5 separate regions of the Homo sapiens genome follow, and regions 2, 3, 4 and 5 are each linked to region 1. The links are contacts of gene promoters, found by promoter capture Hi-C in blood cells and fetal thymus (Javierre and others, 2016). All regions are on one chromosome and are shown on one strand. The core of a region is centred on a gene start or on the middle of the fragment in contact, and the rest is flanking DNA. Distances in the headings are between cores, read along the strand shown. Region 1 holds the start of ZNF384 (zinc finger protein 384). Region 2 overlaps ATN1 (atrophin 1). Region 3 overlaps LRRC23 (leucine rich repeat containing 23). Region 4 overlaps NCAPD2 (non-SMC condensin I complex subunit D2). Region 5 overlaps IFFO1 (intermediate filament family orphan 1).

Evidence for each region. The method cuts DNA at HindIII sites, captures the fragments that hold promoters and counts their contacts. A CHiCAGO score of 5 or more calls a contact.
Region 2: a fragment that was not itself captured here is called in contact with the fragment with the promoter of ZNF384 in region 1 in 3 of 17 cell types (non-activated CD4 T cells, activated CD4 T cells and naive CD4 T cells); the score reaches 9.6 in non-activated CD4 T cells.
Region 3: a contact is called between a fragment that was not itself captured here and the fragment with the promoter of ZNF384 in region 1, in 4 of 17 cell types (activated CD4 T cells, naive CD4 T cells, non-activated CD4 T cells and 1 more). The highest score is 8.6, in activated CD4 T cells.
Region 4: a fragment that was not itself captured here is called in contact with the fragment with the promoter of ZNF384 in region 1 in 5 of 17 cell types (total B cells, naive CD4 T cells, non-activated CD4 T cells and 2 more); the score reaches 6.6 in total B cells.
Region 5: a contact is called between a fragment that was not itself captured here and the fragment with the promoter of ZNF384 in region 1, in 4 of 17 cell types (naive B cells, non-activated CD4 T cells, erythroblasts and 1 more). The highest score is 7.9, in naive B cells.

Annotation. Positions count from the first base shown.
Region 1 is chr12:6,688,100-6,690,641 of GRCh38, forward strand. ZNF384 (zinc finger protein 384) reads right to left here and starts at 1,276. Exons shown (of 12, transcript NM_001385745.1): 1 at 999-1,276; 2 at 68-127. RefSeq lists silencers at 1,125-1,234, 1,315-1,394 and an enhancer at 1,128-1,754. The HindIII fragment of the contact is 17,984 bases long and covers 1-2,542 here.
Region 2 is chr12:6,930,413-6,932,954 of GRCh38, forward strand. All of the region lies in intron 1 of ATN1 (atrophin 1), which reads left to right. Among named protein-coding and RNA genes, the nearest start is that of ATN1, 3.7 kb to the left of the region's middle. The HindIII fragment of the contact is 1,254 bases long and covers 641-1,894 here.
Region 3 is chr12:6,909,354-6,911,895 of GRCh38, forward strand. It overlaps LRRC23 (leucine rich repeat containing 23), which reads left to right. Exons shown (of 8, transcript NM_001135217.2): 6 at 537-673. Among named protein-coding and RNA genes, the nearest start is that of ENO2, 4.0 kb to the right of the region's middle. The HindIII fragment of the contact is 2,135 bases long and covers 206-2,340 here.
Region 4 is chr12:6,499,209-6,501,750 of GRCh38, forward strand. All of the region lies in intron 2 of NCAPD2 (non-SMC condensin I complex subunit D2), which reads left to right. Among named protein-coding and RNA genes, the nearest start is that of NCAPD2, 6.4 kb to the left of the region's middle. The HindIII fragment of the contact is 435 bases long and covers 1,055-1,489 here.
Region 5 is chr12:6,538,776-6,541,317 of GRCh38, forward strand. IFFO1 (intermediate filament family orphan 1) reads right to left here. Exons shown (of 10, transcript NM_001193457.2): 10 at 764-1,813. The coding sequence ends at 1,708. Among named protein-coding and RNA genes, the nearest start is that of GAPDH, 5.5 kb to the left of the region's middle. RefSeq lists enhancers at 795-1,004, 1,785-1,934, 1,965-2,104. The HindIII fragment of the contact is 6,612 bases long and covers 1-2,542 here.

The sequences.
Region 1 (2,542 bases), core at 26-2,525:
GCCCCATTTGGTTGTGACCCCTTCTCCCCCAAAACCAGAAAAGCCATTAACCCAAAAATCATCTTACCCTCTCTCTCTCTTCCTCCTGCCGTCTTATTCCTTCTCCTTTCCAGGGCTCCTGAACTTTCTGTAAACAAATTGTCTAGGTTACAGGGGCCAGGCAGGGTGCAGCCACCAGAGAACTGTGGAGAACCTCAGGAATTATTTGTCAGCAGTCAGTCTGGAAGGCAGGCAGACCCCCCAGCCAGCAATCCAAAGACGGGTGGATATAATAACAGCAGTCTAGTGCTACCCTCTACGTGGATACAAGAGAAATAAATCCAATTCCCAGAAACTAAGACGAATTCTATCACCAGCGTTTGGGTTTCACTCCTAGGCTCAGAGACTGGTCCTTGTTCGTTCCCAGGCCACAGGTAACCAGGGGTCAGAGAACATTAGAGATGGAGGAGGAGGAGGGTCTGTGCCCCTGAGGAGTGGCTTCAGAAGGCAAAGCTGAGGGCTGGGGGATGCACAAGACCTTGTGGCAGGCACAGTGCCAGTTCAGGCCCAGCCACTTCCTCTAGCCTTCCCCCCACTTCTTCGAGGACTTCGCCCCCTGCCTACCCGAGGCCTTGTGCCAAGAAGTACCTCCCTCAGCCTGCACCGTGGTCTATCTACTGGAGACCCCAGCTGTCCCCTCAAAACCTTCGCTCCCCTGAGACAGTTCCTGGGAGCCTTCTCCTGATGTCGTCCCCTACCCCTTTCTCAAAGACCCTTCCTTGGGACGTCCCTCCTTCCCCTCCAGGGAGCTGAACTCTGCCACCCACCAGACAGGCACCCGCCCCCTAAACCCCCCCATTCCTTCCCATCGCCCGCTCCTCCACAACCACTTCCGGTTCCGGGACGGACACACACACAGTCACATCGTGGACCCCCCCTTCCCCGCCTGCCCAAGGAAAAGGGGAGGGGGGAGGAGCAAGCAGCTTGGCGCGCGCCGGCTGTAGCGGCGCGAGACTCACCGGGCGGCGACGGCTGCGGCGGCGCCAGAGCCTGAGCCAGGGCGCGGGAGGGGCGGCGTTTGCTGGGAAAGGAGGGAGCCGAGGAGGGTGGGAGGACCAGGAAGGGGCGAGGGAGGGGAAAAAGCGCAAGGCGCAGCGCGCGGGCACGCACTTCTGGAGCGAGACAGACCCACACACTCACACGCACGGAACGCGCGCGAGACACCCGCAGGGCGGGGGCGCGAGGTAGTGGGTGGCCCCCCCTCCTTGCTGCCCTCCCCTTGCACTCACCCGGAAGTGGTGCTGCAGCTCGTGCTCCCGCGAACCCCAGTTCCTCCACGCCCCCCTCCCTCCCCCCAACAGGCTCAGAGAAGAGCTCTGCGGAGAGAAGGCGGGAGCGCCGGAAACGAAAAGGGGGGAGGGAGGGAAATAGCAATGTAGGGGGGGCGCTAATGGAGAAAGAGGGGCGTGCAGAAGCCGAGTCACTTCCGGGAGTGGCTGGAACACTTCCGGCGCCGCTAGCGCTGCGAGATATTCAGGGCAGAAGTTACGATAACTCGGGGCGGAAATAGCTTCTGCCCAGCGACTGGGAAGAGGGGATGTGACGCTATAGCGGAAGTGAAGGCGGGTTCCGCTAGGGGCAAAAGCTGAAACCGGAGGACTCCGGCCCTGAGCTTCCGGAAGGGACATCTGGGGAAGGTGGGGGGGTGGAAACGCGACAGGTTCATGAATTATCCATCAAGGTAGGAGAGGAGGTGTGGGTTCTTCAGATGCTGGGACCCCGTTTCTCTTCCCTCTGGATGTTGAATAAGCTGATGTAGGAAATTACCATTATTTTTTCTGATACCCCCAAGAATGTCTCAATGCTTTGAATATGCGGGAAAGGACTAGGACGTATCCTTGTTTTTCGGAGGTCCCTACTTAGGTCCAGTTAGAAACTCTCCCAGCCATCAAAATCTGTCTCTCTGACACATCCCTTACTTTACTTTGGTCTTTTCTTGTTGCCCATACCCACATCTCTATCCCCTTACCCTGTTTTACTTAAATATAGCACTTATTACTGCCTGATTTATTGTTTGCTGTCCACCTCTCCCAACTAAAATATTGGCTACAGGACAGCGAGGACTGAATTGTTCGTTGCTGTATCCTCATATCCTGGCAGTTAAGTGGTCTGTAAACTCTTGTTGTATAAATGAACTATAGTTCATTATGAACACCTAAATATGAACCCTTTTAGGAAGCCTTGCCTGATTGCTCCAACCTGTAATGGTCCCTCTGAATTCCCATAGTATTTAATACGTACCTTTTATTGATATTTTAACTATTTCATACATGTGATTCCCCAGCAAGATTGTCAGTTCCTCATGGAAGGAAATACGTTGCTTTGCTGAGCATATAGTAAATGCTGAATATGTTGTTTGAACAAGTGAATGCTGTTACAAGCGTGCACCCCGACCTGGCCAGAATCCCCCTGGGCTCAGCTCTAAGCAGAACTGAGGTCTCTCCTACTAATGGTAAGAGCCTCTTGCTGAGAAAAATAACCTTTTTTTTTTTTTTTTAAAGAC
Region 2 (2,542 bases), core at 18-2,517, 240 kb after region 1:
TAATTTCTTTTCCTGTTCTTACTTAGGGGCTCTTTTTCTAGTTCTCACTTTCCTCCCAACCCAGTCTGGTCTTAATCATTTTCTTTTTAAAGTAAGGTAATGGCAGTGCGCAGTGGCTCACGCCTGTAATCCCAGCACTTTGGGAGGCTGAGGCGGGCGGATCACGAGGTCAGGCGATTGAGACCATCCTGGCTAACACGGTGAAACCCCGTCTCTAGTAAAAATACAAAAAAATTAGCCGGGCGTGGTGGCGGGCGCCTGTAGTCCCAGCTACTCAGGAGGCTGAGGCAGGAGAATGGCGTGAACCCGGGAGGTGGAGCTTGCAGTGAGCCGAGCCGAGATCGCGGCACGGCACTCCAGCCTGGGTGACAGAGTGAGACTCCGTCTCAATAAATAAATAAATAAATAAATAAATAAAATAAAGCAAGGTAATGAAGGTGAATGTGCTTAGTATGTGGCCAGATACAGAGTAGGTGCTCTGTAATATTAGTTACAGTGATTGCCTGCTAGGAGTGTAGGCTGGTGCTAAAACATGACCCAGGTCTAGAAAGACACACAATCCACCCCTAACTCCTTTCCTCGTCTGCCACTCCTTATCCCCAGGATTACTTGTTCTTTTATGACTGCTTTTCTCCTTCAAAGCTTCTCATTGCTAGTTTTTATCAGATTTCAGGTGATTAAAAAAGAAGGGCATACTATGATTGCTGTGTTCCTCAGGTACATTCCTGTGTTTCTCTGACCTTTTGGATCCCCTAACCTAACTGACTTGGTGAACAGGTTCTGTGATGGGGAAGGGAGATGGACACCCTTCTCTAGGAGGGCTGGCAAAAATACACCAATCACAAATAGTCATCTTTGTTGTGCTTTTTGTTTAAGATTGTTTTCCTCTTTTGCTATGGTGGGTGTTGTTCTTCGGATTTTTTTTTTTTTTTGGTTGATAGTATTTTAAAACCAGTCTACATAACAACTAAAAAATGTGGGAAAATAGCTGTAGTTGAAAAAAAAAAAAAAAAAAAAAAGGCCGGGCATGGTGGCTCACGCCTGTAATCCCAACACTTTAGGAGGCTGAGGCAGGTGGATCATCTGAGGTCAGGAGTTCGAGACCAGCCTGGTCAACATGGTGAAACTCCGTCTCTACTAAAAATACAAAAATTAGCCAGGTGTGGTGGTGTGCGCTTGTAATCCCAGCTACTTGGGAGGCTGAGGCAGGAGAATCGCTTGAACCTGGGAGGCGGAGGTGGCAGTGAGCTGAGATCATGCCATAGCACCTCCAGCCTGGGGAACAAGAGCAAAGATCCATCTCAAAAAAAAAAAAAAGGAAAAAAAAAGAAAACTAGTTGGCCGGGCACAGTGGCTCACGCCTGTAATCCCAGCACTTGGGAAGGCCGAGGCAGGCAGATCACCTGAGGTCAGTAGTTCGAGACCACCCTGACTAACATGGTGAAACCCTGTCTCTACTAAAAATACAAAAAATTAGCCGGGTGTGGTGGTGCATGCCTGTAATCCCAGCTATTCAGGAGGCTGAGGCAGGAGAATCGCTTGAACCTGGGAGGCAGAGGTTGCAGTGAGTGAGATCACGCCACTGCACTCCAGCCTGGGCAACAAGAGTGAAACTCTGTCTCAAAAAAAAAAAAAAAAAAAAAAAAAAAGACAAGTCTACTGGGCAGAGCATCAGTTGAAAGTTCAGAAGATAGGCTCTGTCCCAGCAATTTTGTGATTCTAAGTAAATTGTGAAGTTTCCTGGAAAGGTTAGACTCACCCCTTACTGCCTGCATCAGTATGGTTCCGTGGAGGTGAGTGAGAATTACTGTGTTTCTTGGGAAAAAATACACTACAGAATATGGACATGCCGTTTACCTAGCAGGCCTCCAACTCAGAATAGAATACATGGGTAAGCTTAGTCTGTTCCCACTGGAGCTAGCAGCACTTAATTCAGGAAGAAAGACCTACTGATGTTAGTGGGTTTAAAGGTCAATCACAAGAAGAGCGCACACACATCAGTGGAAAGGAAGAAAACAGTAAGAAAATACCATTTTTGCTCTCAAAAGATCTTACAATCAGTAATTTGGAGGGACTTGACACTTAGCAAGAAATACAAACAAGTGCAAATGAATACAGCTGGCTATAGGGATTTGGATAAAGATAGATACCTGCTGATAGACAGATACGGATGGATTGGCTGTGAGAAACTGTGTAACCCAGTCTACACCAAGTAGGAGGATAGGCTTAAAAACTGGTACATCTGTGTTGTTTGCTCACGGATATTTTGAGTCTTTAATCATTCATGTGAAAACCCTGACTTTTCCTCTAGCCTTAGGGAGCTCAAGTACTAGAGAATGGGTCCTTTATGGGGCTCTCAAAAATGAAGTTCTACAATTTGGGGCTACCTAGGTTTAGTCTTGGGATTGGTAGGGCTGTGTTCCTTTGTATTATAGAATGGGACATTCTTCTTCTACCTACTCTGATGTGAGAAAAGATTCTTTTCATATCTCTGTGACTGATCTAGGCCTTCTGAGAATTCTCCCCAGCAACTTCTGAGGAG
Region 3 (2,542 bases), core at 23-2,522, 220 kb after region 1:
ATAGTATATTATATATAATATATTTTATATAATATATAAATATTATATATAATAGTATATTATATATAATATATAAATATTATATATAATAGTATATAATATATAATATATAATATATATTTTATATATTATATAATATATTATATATTATATATATAATAACTCCACAGGAAGCCACTGAAATATTTAGTCTTTTAGACTCTTAAGCTTCGTTATTCTGGGATGGTGCTGATGCCAATCCTCAGTGGTGGCCTGGGGGCTCCTGGGCCGGGTAGGGGTGGGTTGAAGCATCTCCTCCATCCCAAGTGGCTTTGATGGGGCGAATGGTAGAGGGTTACTGCTGACCTTTCTCTGGGATGGCAGCTTCTCCTGAACTTCTTTACTTTCTATACTGATCTCTACTCACCCCCACTCCTTTCTTCCACTCCTCCCTCTCTACCTCTTGGATTTCCTCTTTTGCTTTATCTCATTCTGACTTCTCTTTCTTCCCTATCCCTGCTCCCTCTCAATCAATCCACTGTGCCCTGGGGGTCTAGGCCCAAAACATGCTGAAGAAGGTGGAAGGCTTGGAGGATCTGAGCAATCTCACCACCTTGCATCTTCGAGACAACCAGATTGACACCCTGAGTGGCTTCTCCAGAGAAATGAAATCATTGCAGTACCTCAACCTGAGGTATGCACCCTCTCCAAGCCCCACCTTGCCCCTACCCCTGACCAGGTGCAGCTTTTGAGTCTGTGTTCTTCCCTGGCCCAATCCCCCAGTCCTAGCCCACAGCTGGATTCTCAAGGAAAGCCCGGCTTTCCTTCCTTTCTTCTGCACTGAGTTGCAACACTAAATCCCTTATAGCTTGTGACCCCTGAATTTTTATTCATTCAATCCACAATTATTGAGAATGTGCTATGTGCCAGGCCTTGTGCTGTGTTTTGGGGACATTTAAAGCAATCAGAGGCTGGGCATGGTGGTTCATGCCTGTACTCCCAGCACTTTAGGAGGAAGGATCACTTGAGGCCAGGAGTTCAGGACCAGCCTGGGCAACCTAGTGAGACCATGTTTCTACAGAAGTGAAAATAATGGCCCGGCATGGTGGCTCACACCTGTAGTTCTAGCACTTTGGGAAGCCGAAGTGGGCAGATCGTTGGAGCCTAGGAGTTCAAGACCAGTCTGGGCAACATGGCAAAATCCCATCTCTACCAAAAATACAAAAATTAGCCAGGCATGGTGACAGGCACCTGTAATCCCAGCTACTCAGGAGACTTAGGCGGGAGGATCGCTGGAGCCTCGAGGTGGAGTTTGCAGTGAGCTGAGATAAAGCCGCTGCACTCCAGCCTGGGTGACAGAGCCAGACCCTGCCTCAAAAACAAAACAAAAATAAAATATTAAATAAAAATTAAAATATTAAATTAAAAATAAAAATTAACTGAGCCTGGTGGTGCACACCTGTGGTTTCAGCTACTCAGGAGGCTGAGGTTGGAGGATCACTTGAGCCCAGGAGTTCAAGGTTGCAGTGAGCCATGATTGTGCCACTGCACTCCAGCCTGGGTGACAGAGTGAGCTGTCTCTAAAAGAAAGAAAGGAATCAGAGGTGATTCCTGTTCCTAAGGGGCTCACAGTCTGGCTCCAACTCTTTTTTCCTCACCCTATCCTATATAAGTTTCCACTGCCCTTCTCCATTTCCTCGGTCCCAATTCACCTTCCCATTTCCTGCCTCTCTTCTCCTGAGCCCCACCTGTAAGGGATGACCTTTTTACTGATTAAAAAAACACAAGATGTGCTCAGATTTGAGGAGAGAAGGACATTTGTAAGAAAATCTTTTGGTAGAAAGGCACTGAAGATCAGCAACTCTTGTCGGATGGAGGACTTTATGTGTGTTTATTTCAGCAAACATGTAAGGAAACTGCCTCTTTCCTTAGTCAACAAGACCAGATTCTTGAGCTGGTAATGGAAAGAGCATCTCCAAGTAGGGAGAGGTGGTTGCATCTGGAAGCCCCAACTCTCATCCTGACCCCCTGGGCATTCTCTTATTCATGAACTCTGCCACACGGATCTGGTGGGGTGTGTATCTGTGCCATCTTCCTGTTAATGATCTAGACAGGCATGATGGACCCTTCCTGAGTGGCTATTAAATGGGGATGTTTTGAGAGTAAGTCGGGTGTGTGTGTGGAGGGGGGTGAGGGTGTCTCAATGATTGGCAGGTGCCTCTGGGGCCAGAGATGCTAAGCATCCAACAATGTATGGCAGAGTCCAGTACAAAGTTCCTGTAGCCCTCCTGGTGAGAAACACTGCATGAGGCTCAGCACGACCATGAGATCAGGCTGAAACACTTAAATAGATTTCATAAAAGCTTAAAGCCAGAACATGAAAATAAATAAAATTCCAGGCATGGTGGCTCACGCCTGTAATCCCAGCACTTTGGGGGGGCCAAGGCAAGAGGACTGCTTGAGGCCAGGCGTTCAAGACAAACCTGGGCAACATAGTGAGACCCAGTCTCTACAAAAAATTTAAACATTAGCCAGGTGTGGTGGCACATGCCTGGAGGTACTT
Region 4 (2,542 bases), core at 22-2,521, 190 kb before region 1:
TTCTTTCTTTTTATTTTTTTAAGATAAGGGTCTTGCTTTGTTGACCAGGCTGGAGTGCAGTGGCTCAATCTCAGCCCACTGCAACCTTCACCTCCTGGGCTCAAGCAATTCTCCTGCCTCAGTTTCCCAAGCAGCTGGGACTACAGGTAAGTGCCACCACGCCTGGCTAATTCTTGGGGGGTTTTTTTGTTGTTCTGGAGACGGAGTTTTGCTCTGTCGCCCAGGTTGGAGTGCAGTGGCAAGGTATCGGCTCACTGCACCCTCCACCTCACAGGTTCAAGCAATTCTCCTGCTTCAGCCTCCCAAGTGGCTGGAATTACAGGTGCCCACCACCACATCCAGCTAATTTTTTTTGTATTTTTTAGTAGAGCTGGGGTTTCACCATGTTGGCCAGGCTGGTCTCGAACTCCTGACCTCAGGTGATCTGCCCAACTTGGCCTCCCAAAGTTCTGGGATTATAGGCGTGAGCTACTGTGCCCAGCCTATTTCTGGAATATTTCATTTAATATTTTCAGACTTGAGATTGACCACGGGTAACTGAAACCCCAGAAAGTGAGAACACAGATTGGTGAGGACCACTGTGTGTAAGATGGTTGTAAGAGCCAAAGAGAAAAATAAAGAAGACAGTGTGGCCAGGCGCAGTGGCTCACACCTGTAATCCTAGCACTTTGGGAAGCCAAGGTGGTTGGATTGCTCAAGCTCAGGGGTTTGAGACCAGCCTGGCCAACATGGTGAAACCCCATCTCTACCAAAATTACAAAAAAGTTAGCCAGGCGTGGTGGTGCACACCTGTAGTTCCAGCTACTTGGGAGGCTGGGGTGGGAGAATTGCTTGAGCCCAGGAGGCAGGGGCTGCAGTGAGCCATGATCATGCCACTGCACTGCAACCTGGCCACAGAGCTAGACCCTGTTTCAAAAAAGAAAAAAAAAGAAGTGTACTGGGAATGGTGGCTTGTCCCTGTAATCCCAACCACTTGGGAGGCAGAAGCAGGATTGTTAAGGCCAGGAGTTCAAGACCAGCTTGGGCAACATAGTCTCTAAAATTAATTATACAAAGCTTAAAAATAAATAATATAAAGAAGAAGATAGTAGGACCTGTCATTTCATGTTGGATCATCAGAGAAGGCTTGCTGTTACGTCACGTTTGAGCAGAGACCTTAAGAAAGTAAGGAAATAAACTATGCAGATTGTTAGGGAAGAGCATTCCAAGCAAACAGAAAAGCCTATGCAAAGGCCTTGAGGTGGGCAAATGCCAATAGAGTTGGAGTGCATTAAGCTAGGAAAAAGAGATTAGGTAGGAAGTGGTACAGATTATTCTAGAATCTTGCTCCTCAAAATGTGGTCCTCAGATCAGCAGTGTTAATATCAGGATCTCATGATCTGGGAGCTTATTAGAAATGCAGGATGTCAAGGCCCAGGATGTCAAAGCTGCTGAATCAGGAAATCTGTATTTTAAGAAGATTCCCCCAGGCAATTTGGATGCAATTATAAGCTTGAGAAGCACTGATCTCTAGAGCCTCGTAGATCATGGCAAAAACTTGAACTTCAGTGTGAATGAACTTGAAAGCCATTGGGTTTTGAGCATGGGAGTGACATGGTCTGACATTTTAAAAGATTCACTGGCGACTGTGTTGAGCAGAGACTATAAGAGGCAAGGAGAGAAGCAGGGATACTAGTTAAGTGGCTAATACAGTAATACCAAGTAGATTGGACTGGAGGGATAGCAGGGGAAGTGGTGATAAAACGACTCAGGATATATTTTCAAAGTAGAGCTTTTACAGGAATGCTGATGGATTGGATTGGATTATAGGGTTAGTAAAGGAATCTGAGATGAGAATGATTACAAGGCTTTTTTTTTTTTTTTTTGACAGTCTTGCTCTGTTGGCTCTGTCACCCAGGTTGGCGTGCAGTGGCGTGATCTTGGCTCGCTGCAACCTCTGCCTCCCAGGTTCAAGCAATTCTCATGCCTCAGCCACCTGAGTATCTAGGATTACAGGTGTGCACCACCACGCCTGGCTAATTTTTTTTTTTTTTTTTTTTTTTTTTTTTTTTAGGCAGAGTCTCGCTCTCTCGCCCAGGCTGGAGTGCAGTGGCACCATCTCGGTTCACTGCAAGCTCCGCCTCCCAGGGTCACGACACCTGGCTAATTTTTGTATTTTTAGTAGAGATGCGGTTTTGCCGTGTTGTCCAGTCTGGTCTTGAACTTCTGGCCTCAAGTGATCTGCCTGCCTCGGCCTCCCAAAATGTTGGGATTACAGGCGTGGGCCACCACACCCGGCCTTACAAGGCTTTTTGACTTGAGCAACTAGAAGAATGAAGTTGCCATTTACTGAGATGGGGTAGCATATGGGAGGGAGAGGTTTAGATTGTTGGTTATGTGAGTGCAGAGTTCAAGGGAGAGGTTGTCAGCTAAAGATACACATTTAGGATTTAATACTCAGCGTGTAGACAGCACTTAAAGCCATGAGATTGCAGTGAGTGTAGATGGAGAAGAGCAGCAGTTTGAAGACCAAGACCTGAGACAGTCCAGCATTTAGAGGCTA
Region 5 (2,542 bases), core at 32-2,531, 150 kb before region 1:
CTCCGCAGCTGTGAGGTCTTGAGCACGTGCTCTATTGCTTTCTGTGCCCTCGTGTCTTATCTGAGGACATCGTGGCCAGCCCCTAAGGTCTTCAAGCAGGATTCATCTAGGTAAACCAAGTACCTAAAACCATGCCCAAGGCGGTAAGGACTATATAATGTTTAAAAATCGGTAAAAATGCCCACCTCGCATAGTTTTGAGGAAGATGAACTGAGATGTGTCAGGGTGACTTATTTCCATCATCGTCCTTAGGGGAACTTGGGTAGGGGCAAGGCGTGTAGCTGGGACCTAGGTCCAGACCCCTGGCTCTGCCACTGAACGGCTCAGTTGCTTTGGGCAGTTACTCCCGGGCCTCACTTTGCACGTGTGCTTACCTAGTGGAGACAAAAGTACATACCTCGGTAGAGCGCGCACGCCTGTAACCCCAGCACTTTGGGAGGCCAAGGTGGGTGTATCACCTGAGGTCAGGAGTTTGAGACCAGCCTGGCCAACATGGTGAAACTCCGTCTCTACTAAAATTACAAAAATCAGCCAGGCTTCATGGCACATGCCTATAGTCCCAGCTACAGGCATGCTGAAGCAGGAGAATCGCTTGCACCCCGGAGGCAGAGGCTGCAGTGAGCTGAGACCACACCACTGCACTCCAGCCTAGGCAACAGAGTATGAGACTCCATCTCAAAAAAAAAAAAAGTACCTACCTCAGAGTTCAAACTAGTGAATATTAGGAAGTGCTTGAGACAGTGACACCAAAGTGCACAATAAATACTCGCCAGTTTCATTATTATTAAAGAATCCATTTGAATGTCAGCTCAACACAGCCTCCTATACCGAGGCATTGTGAACCGCATCTCCCCAGCTTCTCCAGGCTTTTCCAAGAATCAGGGACACTGTAGCCTGTTGGTCTCAGTGTATGACAGACACGGAGGAAGCACATCTTTAGCTGATACTTAAACAGAGACCCTGAGCGCACATACACCCGCGCACACATGCATGGAGCTTCACCTTCTCTGTCATTCTGCAGTGACCAGGAGAGCAAGAGCTCCCACCTCCCTTCAAAACACTGTGCCCATCCCGGGCACTAAGGCCTCTTTAAAGCACGGCACCTCCACGAGGGAGGGCCACAGCCACATACACTCCACCTGGCAGGTGGACAGCGTGAGCACGTGGACCATAGCAGGGACAAGGTGCCCCGGCCAGCCCCAACGCCCTCTGCCGCTGACAGGGACAGAAGCCCTCTCCAGCTGCGTGTGCTGCAGAGGCCATGCGTAGCCTCCAGCTGCATTCTATTCCACTCCAGTGCCTGGGCCAGTTAGCACCAGTGTGGAAGACAGTGAGCTGGCTCCGGACAACAGGGATGGAGGAAAGGTCCCACATTCACATTCCTGATACGTGGACAAGGTGAGGGGCCGCAATCGCTCTGGCAGCATTTTAAAGATGGGGAAGTAGCAGACACCCACGCGTGAAGGCAGGAGAGCCCCAACTGTGGTGGAAATGGCCCCAGAATGGTAGGGCCAAGCCTAGCTCCAGACACCCCAGAGCCCTGGAGAAGCCAAGACTGAGGGAGAAAGCCTGAGGGAGGAGCGCCCCAGTCCCCAGGGACCGGCCTGGTGCAGAGCTGCAGCTGATGTTCCCCTCTGTGCAGCCCCACCCTCTGCCTCGCTGAGCTCCCTGCTGCGAGGGCCTCGGGTGCAAGGGGGAGGCAGGTCTCTATCTCATGGAGCTGTCAGATGAGACATCGCGATCGGAGTCCTCAGCCTCGCTTGGCGGCGGCGGCGGGTCGCTAAGCGGGACCGCAGTGAAAGCAGGAGACTTTCTAGAAAAAAACACCAGTTGTCAACCTTGGGGCAGGCAGGAATCCTGAAGACGGACGGCACTCCTCCTCCTGCTGCCTCACCCTCTGGCAGCCCGTGAGAAGTACCGGAAGCGAGGGCGGGGCCGCGGGATGGCGAGGGAGCGGCAGGGACTGAACTCTCTCCAAACCCACCCTGACAGGGAAATGGGCCCCGCCTGTGTCTTGGGAACTCAGAGGCTGAGGTCAGGCATGATGGCTCACGCCTGTAATTCCAGCACTTTGGGAGGCAGAGGCGGGTGGATCACGACGTCAGGAGTTCAAGGCAAGCCTGGCCAACATGGTGAAACCCCATCTCTACTAAAAATGCAAAAATTAGCCAGGTGTGGTGGCGGGCGCCTTGGAGGCTGAGGCAAGATAATCACTTGAACCTGGGAGGCGGAGGTTGTAGTGAGCCAAAAAAAAAAAAAAAAGAAATAGCTGAAGTCACAGTAGGAGAGAAGCTGCTGAGCCTCCAGCACCCTGACTCTAGGGCCTTGGCTTTATGTCTATCTGCAGTATTTTTGTGATTTTTAAAAATTCACTTTCTTGTTGCGGTGTAACTTACACAGGGTCAAATGCACAAATCATGGCCCTGACTTTAGATAAAAATCTGCCCCCACAACCCTTCTGTTCCTTGCCAGTTTTTAAACTGCCTCTAACCAGGGGAACCACCAGAGCTGGTGGCCTTGGGAGGTTTCAGCCCTCCCGTCA